Regions from separate parts of the Homo sapiens genome. Here all the other regions are linked to region 3. The links are contacts of gene promoters, found by promoter capture Hi-C in blood cells and fetal thymus (Javierre and others, 2016). All regions are on one chromosome and are shown on one strand. Each heading gives the region's core, a stretch centred on a gene start or on the middle of the fragment in contact. The rest is flanking DNA. Distances are from core to core; before and after follow the strand shown. Region 1 holds the start of HSPA13 (heat shock protein family A (Hsp70) member 13). Region 2 holds the start of RBM11 (RNA binding motif protein 11). Region 3 holds the start of BTG3 (BTG anti-proliferation factor 3).

The links. The method cuts DNA at HindIII sites, captures the fragments that hold promoters and counts their contacts. A CHiCAGO score of 5 or more calls a contact.
Region 1: a fragment that was not itself captured here is called in contact with the fragment with the promoter of BTG3 in region 3 in 1 of 17 cell types (non-activated CD4 T cells); the score reaches 5.9 in non-activated CD4 T cells.
Region 2: a contact is called between the fragment with the promoter of RBM11 here and the fragment with the promoter of BTG3 in region 3, in 1 of 17 cell types (non-activated CD4 T cells). The highest score is 5.3, in non-activated CD4 T cells.

What each region holds. Positions count from the first base shown.
Region 1 is chr21:14,380,048-14,383,340 of GRCh38, forward strand. It overlaps HSPA13 (heat shock protein family A (Hsp70) member 13), which reads right to left and starts at 3,099. Exons shown (of 5, transcript NM_006948.5): 1 at 3,048-3,099; 2 at 1,156-1,496. The coding sequence starts at 3,072. LOC105369304 (a long non-coding RNA gene) reads left to right here and starts at 2,719. Exons shown (of 2, transcript XR_007067924.1): 1 at 2,719-3,293. RefSeq lists an enhancer at 2,806-3,115. The HindIII fragment of the contact is 303 bases long and covers 1,893-2,195 here.
Region 2 is chr21:14,214,628-14,217,718 of GRCh38, forward strand. RBM11 (RNA binding motif protein 11) reads left to right here and starts at 1,530. Exons shown (of 5, transcript NM_144770.5): 1 at 1,530-1,655. The coding sequence starts at 1,560. RefSeq lists a silencer at 1,347-1,576. The HindIII fragment of the contact is 12,542 bases long and covers 291-3,091 here.
Region 3 is chr21:17,611,185-17,614,288 of GRCh38, forward strand. It overlaps BTG3 (BTG anti-proliferation factor 3), which reads right to left and starts at 1,717. Exons shown (of 5, transcript NM_006806.5): 1 at 1,515-1,717. BTG3-AS1 (BTG3 antisense RNA 1) reads left to right here and starts at 502. Exons shown (of 1, transcript NR_149073.1): 1 at 502-2,930. It also overlaps a transcript of CXADR not described here. The HindIII fragment of the contact is 7,083 bases long and covers 1-2,497 here.

The DNA of each region.
Region 1 (3,293 bases), core at 794-3,293, 3.2 Mb before region 3:
CTTCATTTAGAATTTCACTTCATAACTTCCAAGAAAAACTCCACATGGAAAAAAGCTTTAAATGTTTAAAAGAAAAAAAAAGCAGCGAAATCCAAACCAACAAATACATAAACGTATTAAGAGGGAAAAAAAAGTAGCAGTGGATAGGATGGGATAGGCTACAGTAAACATGATAAGAGTCTAAAATCAAAAATTTAAAACTTTGACATCCAGCTCAAAAACATCAGTGAAAAAAAAAAGGTAAGGAAAAGATAACAAAAACATATAATGAAGGTCTTTTATAGCTCACTAAGGAAAAGAAAAACACACCAAAACAAAAAAGGACAAAGAAAAATGGACCATAAAAGAAAATTAAAATATCAATAAAATTCTAAAAATTCTGATCTCACTAAAAAAAATCAAAATAAATAAAAATTAATACAGGATACTATTTTTCACTTATCTGACTGTTAAAGATTAAAAAAAATAACTAGCGAAGATACAGCCACTCTAAAAAATTATGGTTAAGAGCATATAACCTTTCTGGTGAGCAAACCAGAAAAATAAATCAAAAGCCTTAAAAACGTACACATTTGACCTATCAATTAGACTTCTAGCATTCAAGTTAGGAAACTTTCAGAGAAGTGTACAAAGATAAGTAAGGATATTACCGGAATCTCCAACATTAGTGAAAAACCACAAAAAAGTACACTGATAGAGACTAGTCTAATTAATAATGGAATAGTCATTCCACAAAATCATTAAAGATAATGACATGATCCTATTAATTATCCATGACATATTAAATAGCAAAAAATAGCACACCTGGTATGTTCTCTTTATATGTATATAAATATGTACACATACACACACAGAATATCTATCTATGGTACACAGGGCTTCATCAACCTTCCTGCTACCTTGAAAGAGCTAAGCAAGACATGCTGAGGATGGGACAGCAAGAAAATGGCAAGGCCTTAAGTACCTGTTAGCATTATGGAGTCAGTGATTAACTGATCCTATAGCTGCTGTGGAATTTCTGGTTATGTGAGATAACAGAACTTTCATGTATTAATAGATAAAACTAGACGAGATAGAATGTTTTGTGACATGAAGCCAAAGCATTAACTAAAAGAGTACACTAAAATTAATATAGATTTTAGATTAATCACTTACCTTAAATGGGTATCTGCCAATTTCAGCCTCCAACTCTTCTGCGGTAAAAATCTTGCCTATGAATCTTTTGGCATCATATATTGTGTTTTGAGGATTTGAATCTGCCAGCTCTACGCTTTCATATCCCACATATACATCATTGTCAGTAAAAGACACCATGCTGGGTATGCTGATATGCCCATTTTCATCTGGAATCACCTTTACTTTTCCTGTGCCAGGAAAAAACACCCCAACAGAACAATAGGTGGTGCCAAGATCAATACCAATCACTTTAGGAGTAGGCAATGGTAAATACTGTTGTGCCAAATAGCCGGCCAACAGGAGAGTCAAAACAGCCGATCCTGAAATAAAGGAAAATTAAAAGATGTATTTTATCAAACTAGTACAATGTACTAAATTACTGTAGCAAAGTCCCTTTAATATCACTCGTTGAAACAAGGCTAAAAAAGACAAATTTCAAAATTTTTTATAGGACTGCTGATAGCACTCCTCTCAGACAGCAAGTTTTTCAAAATGTAAACTGGTTATAATAAAATTTAAAATGAAGTAAACACAAACAACAAAAAACCCTATAACTGTATGTTTGTGTCATTCTCTAATAAATGTAATAAAATGTAAAAATATTTCAATAATATTTGTGCAGATGCTGACAAGAAACAACATTTATCTGGAGCAAAAGCCAGATATAATCTAATATTCTTGATCAATTGATATTTAGATTTTACAGCTTTATAAAAAGCTTCGATTATCTTTTTTTAAAAGCTCCATTATTAAAATTCTCACAAGAAAAACTTTATTATTTTATAAGTCTAAAATTCTCTCCTCGTATCTCACCTCCTTTTCCCTTTCAAAAGGATGAAATGAATAAATGGGATAAAATGATTTTGAAAGTTCCTTAGATATGAAACTGTCACTTCAAAACAGAACACAGTTAACTTTTTATGTATTTAAGTATGAACTAGGGACTTCCTTCTTGCAGTGGTAATATTTAGGGGAGAAGAAGCATAAAGGTGGGCAACCCTGACGGCAACATCTATGAAAGCTTCTTGAAGACAAGTTTCGTTCACTGTTGTATCCCCCAGACCAGGAATAGCAGATGCCCAACAAATACTAATTTAAAAAAAAAAGAAAAAAGAGTAGGAACAAATGCCACGCAGATTGTAAACATAAGCGAAGAAAGATGCCCCTTTAGTTTTTAATGAATCTCGTATTTGGTATCAGGAGGCTGTGTTATACACCTGTGTCCGCTCATATTACATATGACCCAAAACATGAATTTTCAGGGCTCTGTGTTACTAATTGTTAGCTCATCCTCATCAACACATAACTCAAAGAAATAAAACCAAGTGCGAATCCCACTTTCCACTTCCAGCTACAGGCAACATTTCAGAAGCATTTCATCACCTTGGAGACGCGGGGTGGGTGTGTGTGTGGGTGGGGGATAGGTAATTCCAAACCCGATGTGATGGAAAAAGCCTCCAAATTCAGCATCCCTGAGCCGACAGATCCGGATGTAGCTCCTCCCCCTTCCTCCACAAAGGGGTCCTGGAGGTGCACGTTCTCGCAGCCTTCCATAGCTTGCCCCAATTCAACAGGCAATTCAAAAACCTAGGTGCTGTTGAAAGGAACGCCTCCCTAAGCCTGATGTCCCTGGGATGGACACAGCTGGTCGCCGTCTATCCTACCTTGGCCTGCAGGGGCCGGGGCCCTCCTAGAGGCGTCCCCGCCCCCATCCACTCCGAACAGCCGAAAACCGTCTCTAAGTCACCTTTCTGACTCCCCTTCCGCTGCTCCAGCTAGATCCAGGAGGTGAGTCAACCACCCCTGCCCACTCTGGCATCCTCAGATCGCCTCTACGCCCGCAAGAGCAACAAGGACCCCCGGGAACCCACCTAAGATCGTCATCTCTCTGGCCATCACAGTCCCGCCGAACAGGCTTGTGATGACTGTACCAGACGTGAGGCACCGCCCCCACTCCTCCCGGCAGTCCCGCAGCCCCCTGGGAAATGTAGTCCGCTTGCTCTGAGGCAATCGGAGAAGCTATCGCTCTGACCAAAGCAAGGACTTCATCTACCGTGAGGGCGCGGGGCAAAGAGCCTCCATTCAACCGCTGCCAGTGACGACTGAGTCCCCCTTCC
Region 2 (3,091 bases), core at 280-2,779, 3.4 Mb before region 3:
GTTGCTTTGATGAGATTTATGAAGTAAATGAATACAAATAAATCAAGAGGTCTACACATAACAGAGACTTGCAAGTATCCATTCATTTGATCAACATATATTTATTTGCCTACAATATGAGTGTTTCCTTAACTCCTTCTTACTGTACCGCAACTCTACTGATGATAGAGGAAAGAAAAAGGAAAAAAAAAAATGGAGACAGGACTTATATCAGTTGAAGGTAACTACTGAAGTTACTAGCATTTATATTATATTTGTGAGGGTAGAAAGGCTGTCTCTCCCAAAGTATAAGCTTTAGGAGGTCAGACTTTTATATTTCCCTTTGTTTTCCAAGAATTAAGCATTCAGAAAATACCTATTAAATGAAGTAACTATATTTAGTCCAATCCATTCCTTAAGAAACAGAATCCGAATTCCAAAGAGAAATTACTTGTTCAAAGTAATAAAACTATGTAATGTCAGAGATCAATTAGAAATTAGGATTTCCTAAAATGTGTACCTTTTCATTAGAAAAGATGACTTTTTTTGGTCCATCAACCAGATAAAAGCATGCTTCCTCAATTCAAAATGAAATTTTATCACGATGCCAAACTAAAGGTCAAATAATGTTCTGATCACCTATATGATATTCATGAGATGATCTCAAGGTCCTATGTAGACGTATGGTAGCTTCAGAAAGGAAGCCAAGTTAACAGTTGACAGCTGATTTATCAAAGTATTGAGATTCTAAGTTTTCTTTCTCCTTTCTTGTAATTTTATTGTTCATAAGACTTTTATTAAAAACAAAAATTATCCCCAAGAAAGAACTAAGCCTTTAGCCTGGTACACCATATACAAAGTATAGCCCTGAAACAAAGTACAGCCGTTGGATCCTGACACAAACCCTAGCTGCCATCCTCAAAAATTCTGGCTTAGACACAAAACTGGCTCACTCTCACCAGTATATCCCTTGGTATTTGCTTTCTCAAGTTCCTTTTGGAGTCCACTTAAAACCTCTGCGACCAGTTTCAAAAACTCATCTAGGGAGCACTTTCTAGGAAAATAAACTTTAATTCTAGTTTTCTGTTGTATCCACATCCATGCAAACATCGATTCTTTCAAAAATTATTTATAGTTTAATATCTTCATGATTTGTTCATTTATTCTTTGGACCCAAAGAAATGTATCTCCCCGCATTTGCCTGGGAGCTTCTGCAATGAAGTTACCACAATTTAAATCATCTCTACAGTGACTTTATTTAAAATGTTGATTGAATAAATCCAAAATCAATTAATGTGCCAGAAAAAAAGGAAGCCACCCCACTAGCTAAAGAGTAAAGCCCTTTCTGCATTCATCTTTCTTACTCTCACCCACTCTCCCACCGCCCAGCCCTACGCCAGGCGAGGGAGCAGTGCGGTGGGCGGTACCCCAAGTCCGCTGGGGGCGTGGCCCTGGAGCCATGCCTCGCCCCCAGCGCGCGCTCCCGGCGCCGGCCCCGCCCCCTCACCCAGGCGGCGCCGTAAAGCCGGAGAAGGGGCGGGGTCTCAGCTCCTACTTCATTCTACGGCCGAGACCGGAGGATGTTCCCTGCTCAGGAGGAGGCCGACAGGACCGTGTTTGTTGGGAATTTAGAGGCCCGAGTTCGGGAAGAGATTCTGTACGAGCTGTTCCTTCAGGTACCGTCTCTGGGAAGGGGCGGCGGAGGGGCGGAGCACGTCGGGCCGGAAACATAGCGCGCACCTGGACCACCCGGAGCCCGGCCCCCTTCCGTCCCATCCTGAGCAGGGGTTTTAATTTCGTTTCCTCTTGGCGCACCTGTCTCCAGGTGAGCGGCTGGGGAGTGAAATGAGGGCGCGTTCCCCATCCCCATCCGCGCTGCAGAGTCCTGGGGTTGGGCAGGGACGTGGTTCCTTCAACCCCCGTTTCTGATTAAGGGCTTCCCAGAGGCTGCCTGGGCCTCGGGTGTGCGCGGGCAGAACCGAAAACAGCCTGGTCACTGTTCTCCGTCAAGTAGTAAGCACGCCTGACATCCCCCAAAAGGAGAGGGGTCGCTTTTATAATGTTTCCTTTTACACCTTGCTCCTTCCTTCAAGCCCTTTTATGCGGACAGTATTTTTATTCCAGCATGAAAAGTGAGATTTGAGATGATTTGGCAGCCAACTTACCGTGACTGTGACCAGGTGATTCCCTGGACAAGGCCCTTTAATTCATACCAAGAGGACCTTCGGAAACTTTGAGATCTGGTACCTCTAGGATTAAGCCTGCTGTGTCCTGTATACACGCTCACTTATCGTATTGTCCTATACAGCTAGGTATCACTTGCCAAAAAGATACACTCATTCAGCCATTCCCCTAACCGTGTAATGATCCGGAATTACGGGGCAAATACTGAGGGTGCTGGGAAAACAAATTGACGAGACATCCTTTTATCTTCCTAACAGGGAGAACTTAAAATTACAATGTTTACGATAATCTATAAAAAGAGAAGGGACATAGATAGAAAAGTGGTTCCGCGTGCGAACTCTGAGGTCAGCAGTGTGACTCTGAGCCTGTCAATGAATTCCTCAGTGCTTCAGTTTCCTTATATGTCAAAAGAGAGTAGTAGTATCTGCAGTATAATGTGGCTATCGGAATATGTGGCCTAATGGTAAAATGGCTACAGCTGAGTCTAGCACTCGCTGTTTGCTACCGCTACTACTGCTAATGGTACTGCTGTTATTATTAGTAATAATACTAACATCAAGAGAAATCAATAGTTACTTTCTCCTATCAGAATAAGGGAAAGTTCCGAGGGAGGCAATTACAGAACTAAATTTTCAGGATTGAATGGGTCAAAGGGGTCCTTTATTTGGTTGTGAAAGGACTTACTTTTGTCTCGAAACTTAACTAAAGCAACCCTCTTTTAATTGTAGATACAATTTGGTAGAGAGGGTTCTTTCCAGGAATACAGTTTCCTTTCCTGGACGTAAAACTTTTTTATTATTTGAAAAATATTATTGATTTTAAGACTTTTAGGTTCATCCTTTTAATTCATCTTTTTAAACTTGCCTCCTTTTTTATGAACTCTAATCCATATCTGTTTTTTCATTCAGTATCATTTAAAACTTACTAT
Region 3 (3,104 bases), core at 467-2,966:
GAAAAGAAAACCCAAGGCAATTTAATATACGGGTTGGGAAGAAAGTTTTGCTGATGGAACTACATTAGCCTCCACTCCAGCAAAGCAAACAAGGAACCACACTAAAGAAATGTACTGAATCTTTTAACTAGATCTTTCTCCTCATTCATTACATTTGCCAACTATGTGCCACATATCTGAGTTCTGGATTTGTTTCTGTTTGCTCTGCTTCATATAAAAAAATAGAAAAGAAGGAAAGAACCACTTAGTGGTTGCTTTTGGTTGTAACACAAGATGACTCATTTGGACTTTTGTTTTCCCCGTTTGAAGAAATGATAGCTCGAACAGCTGAAAAATAAGCCCACTCCCACCAGTATTCTAGGAGTACCAAAAGGTGAAAGAGGGAGAGTTACAGTCAGGGCAAGAACCACCAGAGGCAAGCAGGGCCAAGAAGACCTCAGGCGTCTTGAGTAAGTAGGCGTCCTCCACCCACACTCAGAGCAAAAGGCTCCCATTTTAAATATCGCACGGTGACGTCATCCTGGGACCTCGTCACCGCGGCGGCTGCTCCTCAAGTTCTACTTTGTTCCACAAGGCTCCTCTGCTCACGGCTGCGTGGATAAAACCCAAAGGGAATCCAGAATCAAGCTCGGCCTCGCAGGAGTTTATAACTTTTGTACTTTTCCCTCCCTTGTAACGAAAAGCTAATCGCAAACGTTTCTAGGAACACATTTTTCTCCTGATAGACGTTCCCAAGGTGGAGGGCGCGAGAAGACTGGCCCGTGGGGTGAGGAGCCCCGGCCCGACCTCAGCGGCGCCACAAAGCCATGAAGAGGGGAAATAATTTTCCAAGGGGCTAAGAGTTGGACTTTCTGAAGCCATCGAAACCTGCTGCTAGGCTCTCCCGCTGGGGTTTTGAGAGAGGTAGGTGAGGAGGGATCAAACATCTCCACCCGCTCTTGAAAGAACCGCCTTGAGCTGCGCCCAACTTCTGCAATCCCGGTTTTCCCCAAGTTCAAGGGGAAGGGCCCTGGCGCCCAATGCCCAGCCTCCCCGACAACATCCTCGCCAGGGTGCGCCTGCCCCGCGGGTCCGCTGTCCCCGGCGGGCGGCCCTGGGTTCGAGGACCCGGCTTCCCGGAGGCGCGACTCTCCAGCAAACAAGCGGAGCTCCAGAAAAAACACCGACGCGAAGGGGGTGGACAGAGGGTGGGAAGCCGCGGGGTTGTCGCCCACCCGGAGGCGGAATGTAACGCGCTGTGGGAAACGTGGCAGGAGCCCTGAGGCGGCGTCTTTTTCCTCAGGCGCCCGCCGAGGGTCCCGCGGAAAGCCTCGCGGGCCGCCCTCGCGGCCCGCAGCCCCGCTCTGGCGCCGAGCCGGAGCCCATGCAACCTGGTTCCATCCCCTGCCCCTCCCCTGTCCCCGGTGCGCCGCCCGCCAGCGAGCCTTCGACGTGGCCGCAGGGGCGACGGGACCACCCTCCCCCGATACCCACAGCCCCGCCATGTCTGCCTTTCCCCGGCCCGGTCTCCTCACCGCCGCTGCCGCCGCCGCTCTTCGGCCGGAGATTCGGCGGCCCAGACCGTGTCCTGGCCGGGAACTGAGGGCTCCGCCTCAACGGGCCCGCGCTGGGCAACAGGGAGCGCAGCGAGCCTCGTCCGGCGCGTGCGGCTCCCGCGTCGTCGGGCGGCCAAGCGCGCGTTGAGAGGACTGGCGGGCGGACGAGCGCGCACACGAGTGAGCGCAGCCCCAAAGCGGCGCGCAGGGGGCTCGCGGCCCGGAAGAGGGGAGGGGCGATGACCCGGGAAAGGGTTGGCGCGCGCGGGATCGGCTCGCGCGCCTGAGGGGCGGTGCCGGGGGCGGGGCTTCGCCGCGAGGCCACCCCCGAGCCCCGGGCCTAGCCGCACGGGAGGCGACACACCCTCGCCCTACCCTGAGCCTGGCGCAGACCCTCGACCGCGACGGCGCGGTCCGCAGAACCGCGGGCTTCCCTCCCCGGCAAAAAGCGGCGCTGAAGGCCTGTGGGACCCCCGCCCGGCCGCCCTACGTGCGTCAGCGCCTTCGGGGGTCGCGCGGGCTTGGTCCTTTCGGCTGTCTCGGCCTTTTTGTTTCCCCCTCAGGTCTCTCCACGCTGCACTTGACACCCTCAGGGCGGAATGGCGAGTTCTAGACCCAGCTCTCTAGACCCGGGGCTTCATGGGGGACACGGACTCGACGGGAAGGGGAACTTGGCATTTATGGACAGATCCTCATCCTTCTTGCTGTAGTCAATTACACGCACGTTAACCGTGCAGCCGCCCTGCTGTATTTTAGGCGGTTGTTGGCACTCCTAGTTGGGCCCTTCCCTGGCCCCTCACAGCAGGGCCTGCCTCCTGTGGACGCTTGTGTGCTGCCCTGGCACCGGCCACTGTGTTTTGCATAAAGGAGAGGCTCCAAAGATGTTGGCCAAAGGAATGAAGCCTTGAGAGTCCAGGCTTTCTATTTCTGAGACACTCTACTCAAGGACTTCCCAGATGCAAAGCTTCATCTTTGAGCAAATACAAATATGGAGAGGGAACATTAACTTTCTGAAGAAAAGAAGGAACATCTTTTCAACCTTTTATATTGAGTTAACACCATGGTCTTAGTTTTGTGAAAGCACTTTAATACATCCAACTAGCGGGAGGAATACAAGATATTCCTACCTTTTTATTATTATTATTAAAAGAGGGCTAAACCATGTTGTAAACTACTTAAGAACTGAATGTTCAAGTTGTACAGTATATTGGCCAGATTCCTTACTGCCCACTAGGCTTGGGAGCATGTTTTCAGCTCAGTTTTATGAATGTTTTAAATTTGTATTACTGATCTTTGTTATAGCCAATTAGCAATTCAAAATGGTAATTTTTTTAGCAGTAATAAATATACCATCCCCCAAACAGTACAATAAACTTTATTTGTAAAAAAAAAAAATTATACTCTTCTAGGACTTAGTCTACTTACTGGTACATTTAAAGAGGATATTTACACCTTGGAGTCTTCTAGGAGGTGTGAAGGTGTTTTTATTTTAAAATCATAACAATCTGATGAGGTTATTTTTACAGATAAAGGCCTTTAATTCTGCAGTTTCATAAAATAGCTAGGTAA